Regions from separate parts of the Homo sapiens genome. Here regions 1 and 3 are each linked to region 2. The links are contacts of gene promoters, found by promoter capture Hi-C in human tissues and cell types (Jung and others, 2019). All regions are on one chromosome and are shown on one strand. Each heading gives the region's core, a stretch centred on a gene start or on the middle of the fragment in contact. The rest is flanking DNA. Distances are from core to core; before and after follow the strand shown.

What was found. The method cuts DNA at HindIII sites, captures the fragments that hold promoters and counts their contacts. A contact is called where the count stands out against the background at its distance.
Region 1: a contact is called between a fragment that was not itself captured here and the fragment with the promoter of CAMK4 in region 2, in 1 of the 25 tissues and cell types used here (mesenchymal stem cells).
Region 3: a fragment that was not itself captured here is called in contact with the fragment with the promoter of CAMK4 in region 2 in 1 of the 25 tissues and cell types used here (dorsolateral prefrontal cortex).

The regions. Positions count from the first base shown.
Region 1 is chr5:112,135,965-112,139,601 of GRCh38, reverse strand. No RefSeq gene overlaps it. Among named protein-coding and RNA genes, the nearest start is that of EPB41L4A-AS1, 23 kb to the left of the region's middle. The HindIII fragment of the contact is 3,115 bases long and covers 55-3,169 here.
Region 2 is chr5:111,221,565-111,225,761 of GRCh38, reverse strand. It overlaps CAMK4 (calcium/calmodulin dependent protein kinase IV), which reads right to left and starts at 1,378. Exons shown (of 11, transcript NM_001744.6): 1 at 1,118-1,378. The coding sequence starts at 1,278. RefSeq lists enhancers at 1,140-1,189, 2,150-2,249 and a silencer at 1,300-1,789. The HindIII fragment of the contact is 2,937 bases long and covers 738-3,674 here.
Region 3 is chr5:111,757,669-111,761,549 of GRCh38, reverse strand. It overlaps a transcript of NREP not described here. Among named protein-coding and RNA genes, the nearest start is that of NREP, 2.4 kb to the right of the region's middle. RefSeq lists silencers at 3,226-3,585, 3,606-3,881. The HindIII fragment of the contact is 7,107 bases long and covers 1-3,881 here.

The DNA of each region.
Region 1 (3,637 bases), core at 363-2,862, 910 kb before region 2:
GCTGTGGGTTATGGGAGAGAGTATCACAGAGGTGAAGTGCCCTTCTCATCACATCATATTAGAGAATATAGTATACCTATCCACATGACTTATCACTGGTGATGTTAATCTTGACCACTTAGATAAGGTAGAGTTTTCCAGTTTTTCTTACAGGAAAGTGACTATAGGTTGAGCTTTCCCTAATCCAAACATTCAAGATTCAAAACACTTCAATATTTGAAATTTTTGAATGCCAATATGATGCCACAAGTGAAAAATTTCATATCTGTCCTTATGTGCTAGGTCCCGGTCAAAATGCAATCACATCACACACAGTTTATTCAGCATCCCAAAGGGAAGAAAGAGACTTGAGCCCTCTTCAGCTGCAATATATATTTTCTGTACATGCCCAGTTTCCTCCATGCAAGCACACAAAAGAAGTGTAATAAAATGGCACATGTGCAGGCCAGACATGCCATTGGCAGGTTCCCCCCAATGCCCTATGTGAGGCCAAGATTTATGTGCATTCCTTACTGTGTTTTTTTTGCTTATTCTATGCTCTGTGGTGTGAAGATATTGTTGAAAATGTCAAAAAAAAAAAAAAAAAACCGCCTGTTTATACCCCTTGGGCAACAGTGGTAAGGAAAAGAGAAAGCATTTTTACTTATCCATAGCACAGAAAGTCAAGCTGTTGAAGAGACCAGGTAGCAGTATAAGTGTGAAACATTTTACAGAAGGGTATAGTATTGCAATGACCACCACATATGACCTAAGAAACAGAAGGATAAACTGTTGAAGATCTATGTGGAAAGTGGTGGACAGAAGTTAATGAGAAATAGAAAAACACTGCATAAAGCTGAACATGAAGATCTTGATCATGTGTGAACAGAGTGAATCCATCAGCACTGCAGTGAACATGTGCCACTTAGCGGTATGGTAATCAGGAAACAAGCAAAGATCTATCACAACGAACTGCAAGTTGAAAGGAACTGTAAATATTCAACAGGCTGGTTGCAGAAATTTAAGACATTGAAGAAAAGACTTGGCATTAAAGATTTGTGGTAATAAAACATCTGCTGCTCATGAAGCAGTGGAGAAATTCATTGACGAGTTTCCAAAGGTTGTTGCTGATGAAAATCTAATACTAGGACAAATCTATAATGCTGATGAAACATCACTGTTTTGATGTTATTGACCCAGAAAGACAACGACTACAGCTGATGAGAAAGCCCCTAGAGGAATGAAAGATACCATGAACAGAATATCTGTGCTCGGATGTGTTAATGCAGCACACACACATAAATGTACACTTGCTGTGTAGGCAAAAGCTTGTGTCCTTGCTGTTTGCAAGGAGTCAATTTCTTACTAGTTCATTATTATGCTAACCAAAAGCCTGGATCATCAGGGACATCTTTTCTCATTGGTTACACAAACAATTTGTACCAGTGGCTGAAGCTCACTGTAGGGAAGCTGGACTGGATGTTGACTGCCAGTATTATTCCTTGACAACTGTTCTGCTCAGCTTTCAGCTAAAATTTTCATCAAAAGTAATGTTGTTTATGCCATGTACTTTTCTCCAAATGTAATTTATTAATTCAACCATATGACCAGGGCATCCTTAGATCAATGAAAAATACATTTCTTGAACAGCATAGTAGCGTGGTGAACAGAGGCAAGTGTGTGAAGGTTTTCAAAAACAGTTTAGCATGAAGGATGCTGTCCATATATGCTGTTACCAACACTTTGAACAAAGTGACTAAAGACACAGTTGTATATGCCTGGCGCAACCTCTGGCCTGTGACTACGTTTAGTGGTGGTGGAGAACAATGTGACAACTTTGAAAAATTCTGTATGTCAAATAAGAAAAAATGATCTCTGAACTCTTTACATATGCAAAAAAATACCTTCAGAGTCCATCAGCAAGCTGGAAGAAGTGGATATCAAAGTTTTTAATATTGATTGTGAGGCTCCAGTTGTTCACTCATTGACTATAGCCAAAATGGTTCTGAATGAAAGTGATTGTGATAATAGTGTTGATGAAGATGATGTTGTTAACACTGCAGAAAAGTGCCTATAGACATGGTGAAAATGCATGTTGGGCTTACTGAAGGACTAGAGCAATCTGCACTCATTGCAGAATAAGAAATCATGTCAGTTTATAAAATTAAAGACAGACTTTTAAGACAAAAACTGTTGTCAATGAGGCAGATGACTTTGGAGGAAACATTTTTTTTTTCTTTTTTTTTTTTTTGAGACAGAGTCTTGCTCTGTTGCCCAGGCTGGATTGCAATGGCACCATCTCGGCTCACTGCAAGCTCCACCTCCCAGGTTCCAGCGATTCTCCTGCCTCAGCCTCCCGAGTAGCTGGACCTACAGGCTCCTGCCACCATGCCCAGCTAATTTTTGTATTTTTAGTAGAGACAGGGTTTCACCATATTGGCCAGGCTGGTCTCGAACTCCTGACCTCATGATCTGTATGCCTTGGCCTCCCAAAGTGCTGGGATTATAGGTGTGAGCCCCCGCATCCGGCCTGGAGGAAACATTTTTAAAAGCCATTCGGCAGAATGCTTCCTTCTCCCCAGAGGACCCACTTCCTGGTCTGTCAGCTACTTCAGATGTTTCTTCTCACCAAAAAAAAAAAAAAAAAAAAGTGCACAGTAACCTTTTAATCAAAACACAGCATCATGGGTGGAGATTGAAAGCCTGCCGATGTTTGTTGTTGCTGTTGTTTAACAGAGGATACGGGTATTCTGTTGATGCTACTGTGCTGCTTAGTTATTGTGAACTCATTATGTTTTATGCTGTATTAATGTTATATCATTTTTTTACTGTTAAGTACTATGTGAATAAGTGTGAGAAAATGTTTGCTTATTGGTGGCATATAAATTTAGAGTCAGGGGTGATGATGCCAAACAACCACAGATCGTCTACATGGATGGCTGAGGTAGTGACACCTTCGCTTTCTGATGGTTCAATGTACACAAACTTTGTTTCATGCACGAAAATACTAAAAATATTGTACAAAGTTGCCTTCACGCTACGTTTATAATGTACACATAAAACACAAATGAATTTGTGTTTAGATTTAAGTCCCATCTGCAAGATATCTCATTATGTATATGCAAATATTCTAAAATCTTGAAAAAATCTGAAATCTGAAACGCTTCAGATTCCGAAGCATTTCAGATAAAGGATACTCAACCTGTATTTTCCTTTTACATACTCAATTCTTTGGAAGCCAGTCTTTAAGCCCAGCACATACTGTAGGAGCTAGGAGGTTAAGCTACATGTCCTTTGTGAGAGGGTGTGTGGGGAAAATATCCACATATATTATTTACAATTTGTCTGTAAAAAAAGGTGTCTTTCTTTTTTTCCTCCGTCCCTCCCTTACGCTCTATCTCCCTCCCTCCCTCCCCACCTCTCTCTTCCTTCTTTCTACACTTCTTTTCTTTAATCATTTATTTGTATCAATATTAGTCAATATTGATACATTTATATCAATATTGATGCAGTCCATAATCTAATTCTGCATTACAATCTAGTCCAACATTATCTTGTTGCCCAAATTGTTCTATCATTTTTGCCACTTATTTTTTTTAAAAAAATTACATTGTATAGTATTGGCTTAAGATTTTTTTGTTCCCTAGCCTATTAGTTA
Region 2 (4,197 bases), core at 129-2,628:
CAAAGTGGGGGGAGAGTGGGCAGTGATCATTACATCTTCCCACTAAATACCAACATCCAGAATCCTGCTCTGGATCCTCCAATGACTTGAAAAAATAAAAAGGCTGTTAGCAATACTATTTCCAGCAAAAAGAGAATGAAAAATGAAATTGCAAAGGAGTAGTAAGTACAGAAGCTGCAACTTGTCAACCGTTGAAATTACATCTTCAGATTCCCTATACTAAAGAGCCTGGATCTAAAATAAGTGTTGAAAATAAATCTCCTTACCTATGGATAACAGAGAGAAAAGACAAAAAAAAAGGAAGTAAGGGAAAGAAAACTATAATTTTCAATGGATACAAATACGAAAGCATATGGAATCATGCAGAAGGCCAAACTGCTACCTGTTTGGATCTTCAGAGGAGGGATAGGGGACATATCTGCAATCCTAGGGAGATGGTCTGTTGCATATATAATTTAAATAAATCACTCCAGCCCATGAAAGAAGGGAAGCAGCAGCATTCTCACTAATTACCACTGCCTGGATCCCATATGCTGCTTTCTCTTTAAAGCCACACTAGTTCATTATTCTGCCTTCAACTCTCTTAAATGATTCATTTCTCCCTTCACTCCTGAGCAGACTCTGCAGGGAAGCTAGTATTTAAGTTTAATTTCTCGTGTCACTTGCTTTGGAGAGCTTGACGAGGGGAAGGAGGAGGAATCTAACTTAATAATTCTGTCTTGATTTGGAGGGGCACCCTCCGGCCCCCACCCTAAACAATAACTAGACAAACAGGACCCTCTGGCAAGCTATAATCGTGAGCAAAGATATCAATTGGGAAAGCAGGGCCCACGTGCGGTGGGAGCTGTCACCCAAGGGAAGTGGCAGCCTGCGAGAAGGAGGGAAGGTGGGAGGGAGTCGGGCTGATCCTACAGCTGCACCGGCCTAGGCGCTCTGGTGGGGTGGGAAGGACTCGAGCCGCACCTGAATGAAGGTTAGCTCTCTCTCAAGACACTAACTAGGTAGGGAGAAATCGAAGGGCACGAAGGCAGGCTCCCGCACCCTCCGAGCCGTCGCTGCGAGAGGGACAACCCCCAGTGCACGCCGCGGGCTTCCCCAGCCGGAGCCCGCGCCTTACCGTCCCAGCTCCGACTCCACCTCGAAGAAATCGCTCAGCGCATCCCTGTTGGAGCCGTCGATCCAGTAATCCGGGACGAGGCTCGCGGTCCCCGGGGCCGCACTGGCGGTGACCGAAGAGCAGGACGAGGCGGAGCAGGAGGGCACCGTGACTTTGAGCATCTTCGCAGCGGGACTCCGGAAGCCGCCGCCGCCGCCGCCGCCGCTGCCCGAGCGAGAAGCCGGCCGCCAGCCGCCGCCTGCGAACGCAGGAGCGAGAGAGAGGCGGCGTCCTTCACGCGCGCACACGCCCACCGCCGCCGCCCGCGCTCGCAGGGACGGTGGGCGGGGAAGGGGGCGAGCCTCTGCGAGAGGGCGCGAGGGGGAACCCGGAGTCGCCGCCCGCTGGAGGGAGACTAGCTGCACCGCTGAGGAGAGAGGCTCCCTCCCCCTCGCTCCTTCCCTCCTCACCCGCCCTCCTCCCGCGCCGAGCCTTTCCCGCCGCCCTCCCTCTTTCCTTTCTCTCTCCCAGGCTGTGGCTGCCGCGGTGCCGGCTAGGGCGGCTCCGGATGCTGGAGCTTGGGGAAGGCACAAGGACCCGCGCATCATCCCACGCGCCCTCCCGCGGGGACCGGAGCTGGAGGGAGACCGTGCGCAGCGGGACGCTGCTCTGGGATGGCGGGCGCCAGGCGTACCCTGGCAGCACCTGGGTCCGGGCGGCCCCGCCGGATAGCGAGAGAGGGACCTAGGTGGTGGTGGCGCAACTCATCCCTCCTTGAGCGCGTCTCCGTGGCGAGTCCCTCCCACCTAACACCAGCTAACCAGCCATCCTCTGTCAAAGCTTATATTGGTGGCCGGGGAGGGAGTACTGTGGTCGCCGATCCCTCAGGGCTCCTGTGCCTGGACCCAGTGAGAGCTGGAGGAAAAGGAAGCGCCCAGGTCCACACTGACCTGACTCACCTTTGAGTGAAGTCTTCAGTTGGAATAAATGCTGTCGTCGCTGCTGGTGGCACTGCCTCCTCGGCACTGCTGGAGCTCCTAAAAGAGGAGATACTTGGCTGTGTCGAGTTCAATCTCAGCATCTGAAGTGGCTCAGAATTACAGTTCTAGAAGGGCCTTGTGGAAGCCAACTAGTAAACCCTCTGCCTTAAGGCAGGACCTGTCCTCATTCATGACAGGGAAGACTGCTACATGTAAAAGCCCTTTTTCTCTTCCCAAGAGATGTATCCCATGATAAGCATTCTTATGTCCTGTCCATCAGCTGTCATGGCTCTTCTTCTCAGTATTAAACATACATCACTTAAACTACCCTTGAACTTTTTTCTTTTCAGATTTCAGCAAAGACGAACAACAATTAGTCATGTTCTGATACATATCTATGACAGTTATTATACCACAACTCATTTCTGGCTAAATAGCTCCAGGCGCTTTCACCTTACTTCACAGGTGTTACTTTTGGCCTTTTTTTTTTCCTGAGTTTCCTCCAACATGCGCTAAACTCTTCCTAGTAAGTCTCCATTCCTGATAGCACCAACCATTAATATGGTCCAATATTTTAATCTAATTTATGGATTTATTATTCTTAAAAGCCTGCCTGCTATACTGGTGAACAAACAACCAAAAATATCCAATCAAGTAGTTACAGGAATGTGATTCCTAGCTGATTGGAAATTGAAAATATATATAGTCATGCATCCCTCAACCACGGTGAGAAGTTGAAGAGATGCATCCTTAGGCGATGCAGTTGTAAGAACATCATAGGGTGTACTTGTACACAACCAGATAGTATAGCTTACTACACAGCTATGCTGGATGGAATAGTCAATTGCTCCTAGGCTTCAAACCTGTACAGCATTTTACTATACTGAATACTACAGGCCAGCGGTCCCCAACCTTTTCGGCACCAGGGACCAGTTTCTTGGAAGATAATTTTTTCCACAGACAGGGGGTGGGGAAGATGGTTCTGGGATGATTCAAGTGCATTACATTTATTGTGCACTTTAATTCTATTATTATTACATTGCAATACATAGTGAAATAATTATACAACTCACCGTAATATAGAATCAGTGGAAGACCTGAGCTTGTTTTCCTACAACTAGACGGTCCTATCTGGGGGTGATGGGAGACAGTGATAGATCATCAGGCAGTAGATTCTTATAAGGAGTGCACAACCTAGATCCCTTGCATGTGCAGTTCACAATAGGGTTCATGCTCTTACGGGAATCTAATGCTACCACTGATCTGACAGGAGGCAGAGTTCAGGCAGTAATGTGGGAGATGGAGAGCCCCTGTAAATATAGATGAAGCTTTGCTTGCTTGCCTGCAGCTCACCTCCTGCTGTGTGGCCCAGTTCCTAACAGGCCACAGACCAGCCCATGGCCTGGGGGTTGGGAACTCTGCTGTAGGCAACTGTAACACAACAATAAGTATTTGTGTATTTAAACATATCTAAACATAGGAAAGGTACAATAAAAATATGGTATAAAAGGTAAAAAATGGTACACCTGTATAGGGCACTTACCATGAATGCAGCTTGCAGGACTAAAAGTTGCTCCGTGTGAGTGAGTAAGTGGTGAGTGGATATGAAGGCCTAGGACATTACACTACTTAGACTTTATACATACTGTATGCTTAGGCTACACTAAATTTATTTAGAATAGTTTCTTTCTTCAATGGTAAATTAACCTTAGTTTACTGTAACTTTTACTTTATAAACTTTTTAATGTTTTAAAACTTTTTGACTCCTTTATAGTAATGCTTAGCTGAAACACAAATACAAGGTATTTTATACAAAATATATTGTAAAGCTGCACAAAAATGTTTTCTATGTATCCTTATTCTATAAGCTTTCTTCTTTTTAAAACAACTTTTTTAACTTTTTGAACTTTGTTAAAAACTAAAACATACACACACACTAGCCTAGGCCTACACAGAGACAGGCATCGATATCATGTCTTCCGCCTCCACATCTTGTCCCACTGAAAGCTGGAAGGGCTTTAGGGGCAATGACATGCATGGAGCTGTCATCTTCTATGATGACAATGCCTTATTCTGGAATACCTCCCGAAGGACCTGCCTGAAGCTGTTTTACAGTTAACT
Region 3 (3,881 bases), core at 780-3,279, 540 kb before region 2:
TAAGGACAAGTGTAGAGTTCTGTACCTGGTGCACTGTGACCACAAAGACTCCTTTCTAAATGAGATCAGCAGTTCAAAGAACATTTCTTAAAAAGGTGGTGATGCCTAAACTGAATGTGAGAAGAAGGAGCAGGAATTAGCAAATTGAAGAAGTGGGAAAGGGGCCTTCCAGCAGGAGGAATAGCATGTGGAAAGGCTCAAGGGTTGTGCAACAGTGTAACTCACTGCAAAAGTGCCCTCATTCAATCTGACCAGAGAGGACAAGACATGAGGCCAGAAGGAGAGGTGGGATCCATCAGGAAACATCATATAAGTTTTGTTCTATAAAGCAGTCTATAATACCTATTGCTACTGTATATGTAATGTTAACTTATATGCTAAACACTGTACACAGTCTCACATAATACAACAATTTGGCACTATGGTATGAACTCCAACTGAAAGATGAATAAACTGAGACTAAAAGGTTAAATGACTTATCCAAGGCCACATAGAGCTGGCTCTAACCACTTTTCTACTAACCTTTCACCTGGAACTCAGACTCATGGAACTGGTTACCCCAAGCAATGACATTGACCAAAAATTAATAAAGTTGCAGGAATATATAGATTTGAGATACATTTAGCTATAATCAGGAAATACTTGAGAATGACATATCTAAGGGAGAAGAAAAATCCTGTGTCTAAAGTACATCCTTTTCTACTGAGCAAATCCTGTGAGGGACTATTCTTTGGCATACTTGCCAGGGACAGAACCCAAGAATCAGGTTCTGACCCAGGGTTTTTATTTTCTTATACCATCTGGATGTCATCAGTCATCAGTCAAATTTCTTAGCTCATGATCTGCCCCTGCCTCTGCTCAGAAGGCCCCTTTCCTCCTTCAACTTGCTGACTCTTTCTCATTCTTCACAAATTCAGTTTAGGCCTCACCTCCCTTAGCAAACTTTCTTTGAACTGCTGGTCTGATTTAGAAAGGAGCCCTGGCATCCACAGTGAAACCTGTGCAAGAACTCTACAATCATCCTTATCACACTGCACCTTCACTTTGGCTTTGGCTGTCTCTTTACCCCTTCACCCCAGACGACAAATTCCATGAAGATAAGGACATCGCCTACTTCCCTTTCCTCCTCCCTACGAAAATCCTGATTTGGGTCAGGTCTCTGTCCCTCTTCAATGCAGTGCACATAACTCAAGGGAGGCTACCTCTTTCCACCTCAGGAGATGGATCTGATTGTTAGAGCTAGTGGTTCTCAATCAAGGATGAGTCTCCCTGACCCCTTGGAACATTTGGTAGTGTCTGGATACATATCTGGTTGTGACAACTGGCGTTTCCTACAGGCATCTGATGGGTAGAGGCCAGAGATGTTGTTAAACATTATACTATGCACAGGACAGCCTCACCCTCCATCCTCACCCCGTCAAAAAATTATCTTGTCCCAAATGTCAATATAACTGAAGGGTTGAGACATCTTAGCTGAAGTCAATCTTTGCGTGACTTTGCTTCCTGACTGGTAATGGCTTAGGGATAATTATGTGCCCTAAATGATCAATCAGAGTGAAGTGAAGGACTGATATTCTATGATTGAGAGAGAGATGATAAGGTTAGAAAGTCAGACTATAGTCACACTGTGGCAAAATATGGCCTTTATCCCGTAATGGAGCAGGGGATACCATGATTAAAAAGAAATTTTAGAAGAGTGGGTCTACTGTAACACCTACAGGATAGATGGAAGAGGGCAGAACATGGCAGCTAGGAGGACTGTGAGACAGCTATAGCTACAGTTTGAGTGAGGTGACATGGCATGAGTTTCTCATATATCCTTAAGTGATTAGCACAGCCCCCTTCACCTAGAGGAGACTCAAGAATGTTTCTTGGATAGTTGGATGATAACCGTTTTCTGGAACACAACAGATAAATAAGCTATGAATCTGACCCAGTGTTCTTAATACTTAAAAATCTGTCACCTGAATGTCTATCATTACAATGAAGAAAAATTGGCCAAGAGAGGTGGCTTGTGCCTGTAATCCCAGCACTTTGGGAGGCCGTAGTGAGGATTGCCTGAATCCAGGAGTTTGAGACCGGGCAACATGGTAACATGGTAAGTCTCCATTTCTTAAAAAAAAAAAAAGAAAGAAAGAAAGAAAGAAAAATTAACACTTCTCTGTGAAAGAACATCTTAGGGAAGTTTTACATAAACGTTAAAGTCCCTGTGTATGTATGTGTTTATATGTATGTTTCCTTGTAGAAGCAGCTTTTGAACAAATATCACTGGGATAGATTTTTGGTAGTCTGATTTGATGGTGCGCCCTTGGGGTCCTTTCCCAGCCTGACCCTGAGGTGAATGCCAAAGATCTCAATGTTGAGGTGCCCTTGAGCAGCGTGTTGGGGTTCCAGACTTGCAGATCAGCCCCCAGGCGTCTCCCCTCTCCCACCACCCAGCCTATGCCTTACACCTTCCTTCCAGTACTTCCCTGGCTGGTAAACTGGCCTGAAAGGGTCAAGGGAATTTGTTGAGTTTTATATTTCTTCCCTTTGTTCCTAGCTATGGCTGCCAAATCATCTTATTTTTGCAGGAAAATTACTGTGATGTTTTAGATTAATTCAGAGAAGCTTTCAGTGGGCTCCTTAAACATCATACCCAGTGCAGTCTAACAGGCATTTGTTGTGGCAATGGCTTTGTAGTTTTAAAGGTGACCTATAGTCCCAGCAACAAGCATACAGAGAACTCAGTGCATTCTTTTAGAATTGTGAGTGTAAAGTATTGCTTTTTAAGGTTTGCTATTGCTGTACCCAGTATGTTAAATCTAAAACATCAGACATTCTGTAAACACGTTTAAAAATTGAGTTTTGTAAATTTGCCTTATTTTCTTTGTTACAATGGAAAACATTGCTTTCAGTGATTAGGGGAAAAAGTGGATGGCAAATTTAGAAGACACTATGATCCTTTATATCTTTTTTTCTTGGAAAGGCAATTTAATTAGGAAATAATCTTCTCCTGTGACATCTGAGAGTTACCATAAAATGATATCCTGCTTTATTGGCAACAGAACCAGTTTATTTGAGTTTGTTGCAAAATTTTGAGCTATTACATTACTATGAAAAGATAGATTTTAAATAAGAACGACGAGTTTACAAAAATCAGAAATGGCAAAGCACTTTATTTTTTAAAGCAATCCTCGATTTTAAAAAGTACAATTTCAGACGGGCAGGCAGTGGGGGAGCGTATAGGGAAGGAGAAGGAAGCACCAGGGGAGTATGTCTTGGGCCGATCACGCCAGGCCGCAGCTCTGGCTGGTTGTGCGCGTGTGACTGTGTGCACGTGTGTGTGTGCACGCGCAGCCACAGGACCTCTGGGCCCGGCCTTCAGGGGCGCTCCCCGCCCCGGGCTTCCCCGCGGAAGGGAGTGGGGCGCGCGTACCCAGCTGAGGGGCAGGGTCCGACCCGAGGCCGTGTGCAAATGCATCCTTCGCGGACTCTTTGTGTGTCTGAGCGCGGCTCCGCGCCGCCGCAGGCACCATTTTCTGCTTCGCTCAGGACAGGCACATAAAAGGAAGGCGGCTGCCGCCCGTCGCCGTCCTCTTTTCCTCAGATGCCCTCTGCTGCAGGTTTATTATTACAGTACGGGCCGCGCCGCCTCTCCCCACGGCCCTGGCGGGCCGCCGGGCTGTGCAGCACCCTGGCCGCCTTCACGCTTGGCGCGCCCCCAAACCGCCTCCTCCACCTCCTTATTTGTCTGAAAAGCAACCGCACGTCGAGGCGGAGAGGCTGGCCGGGGGCGGGGAGGAAGGCCGGGGATTTGCGCGCGCCGTGCTCCCGGGGCGGGGCCGGGGCGCAGAGCTGCGGGTCCGCTTTGTCTCCCCGGGGCGCCGCGCGGTGCAGTG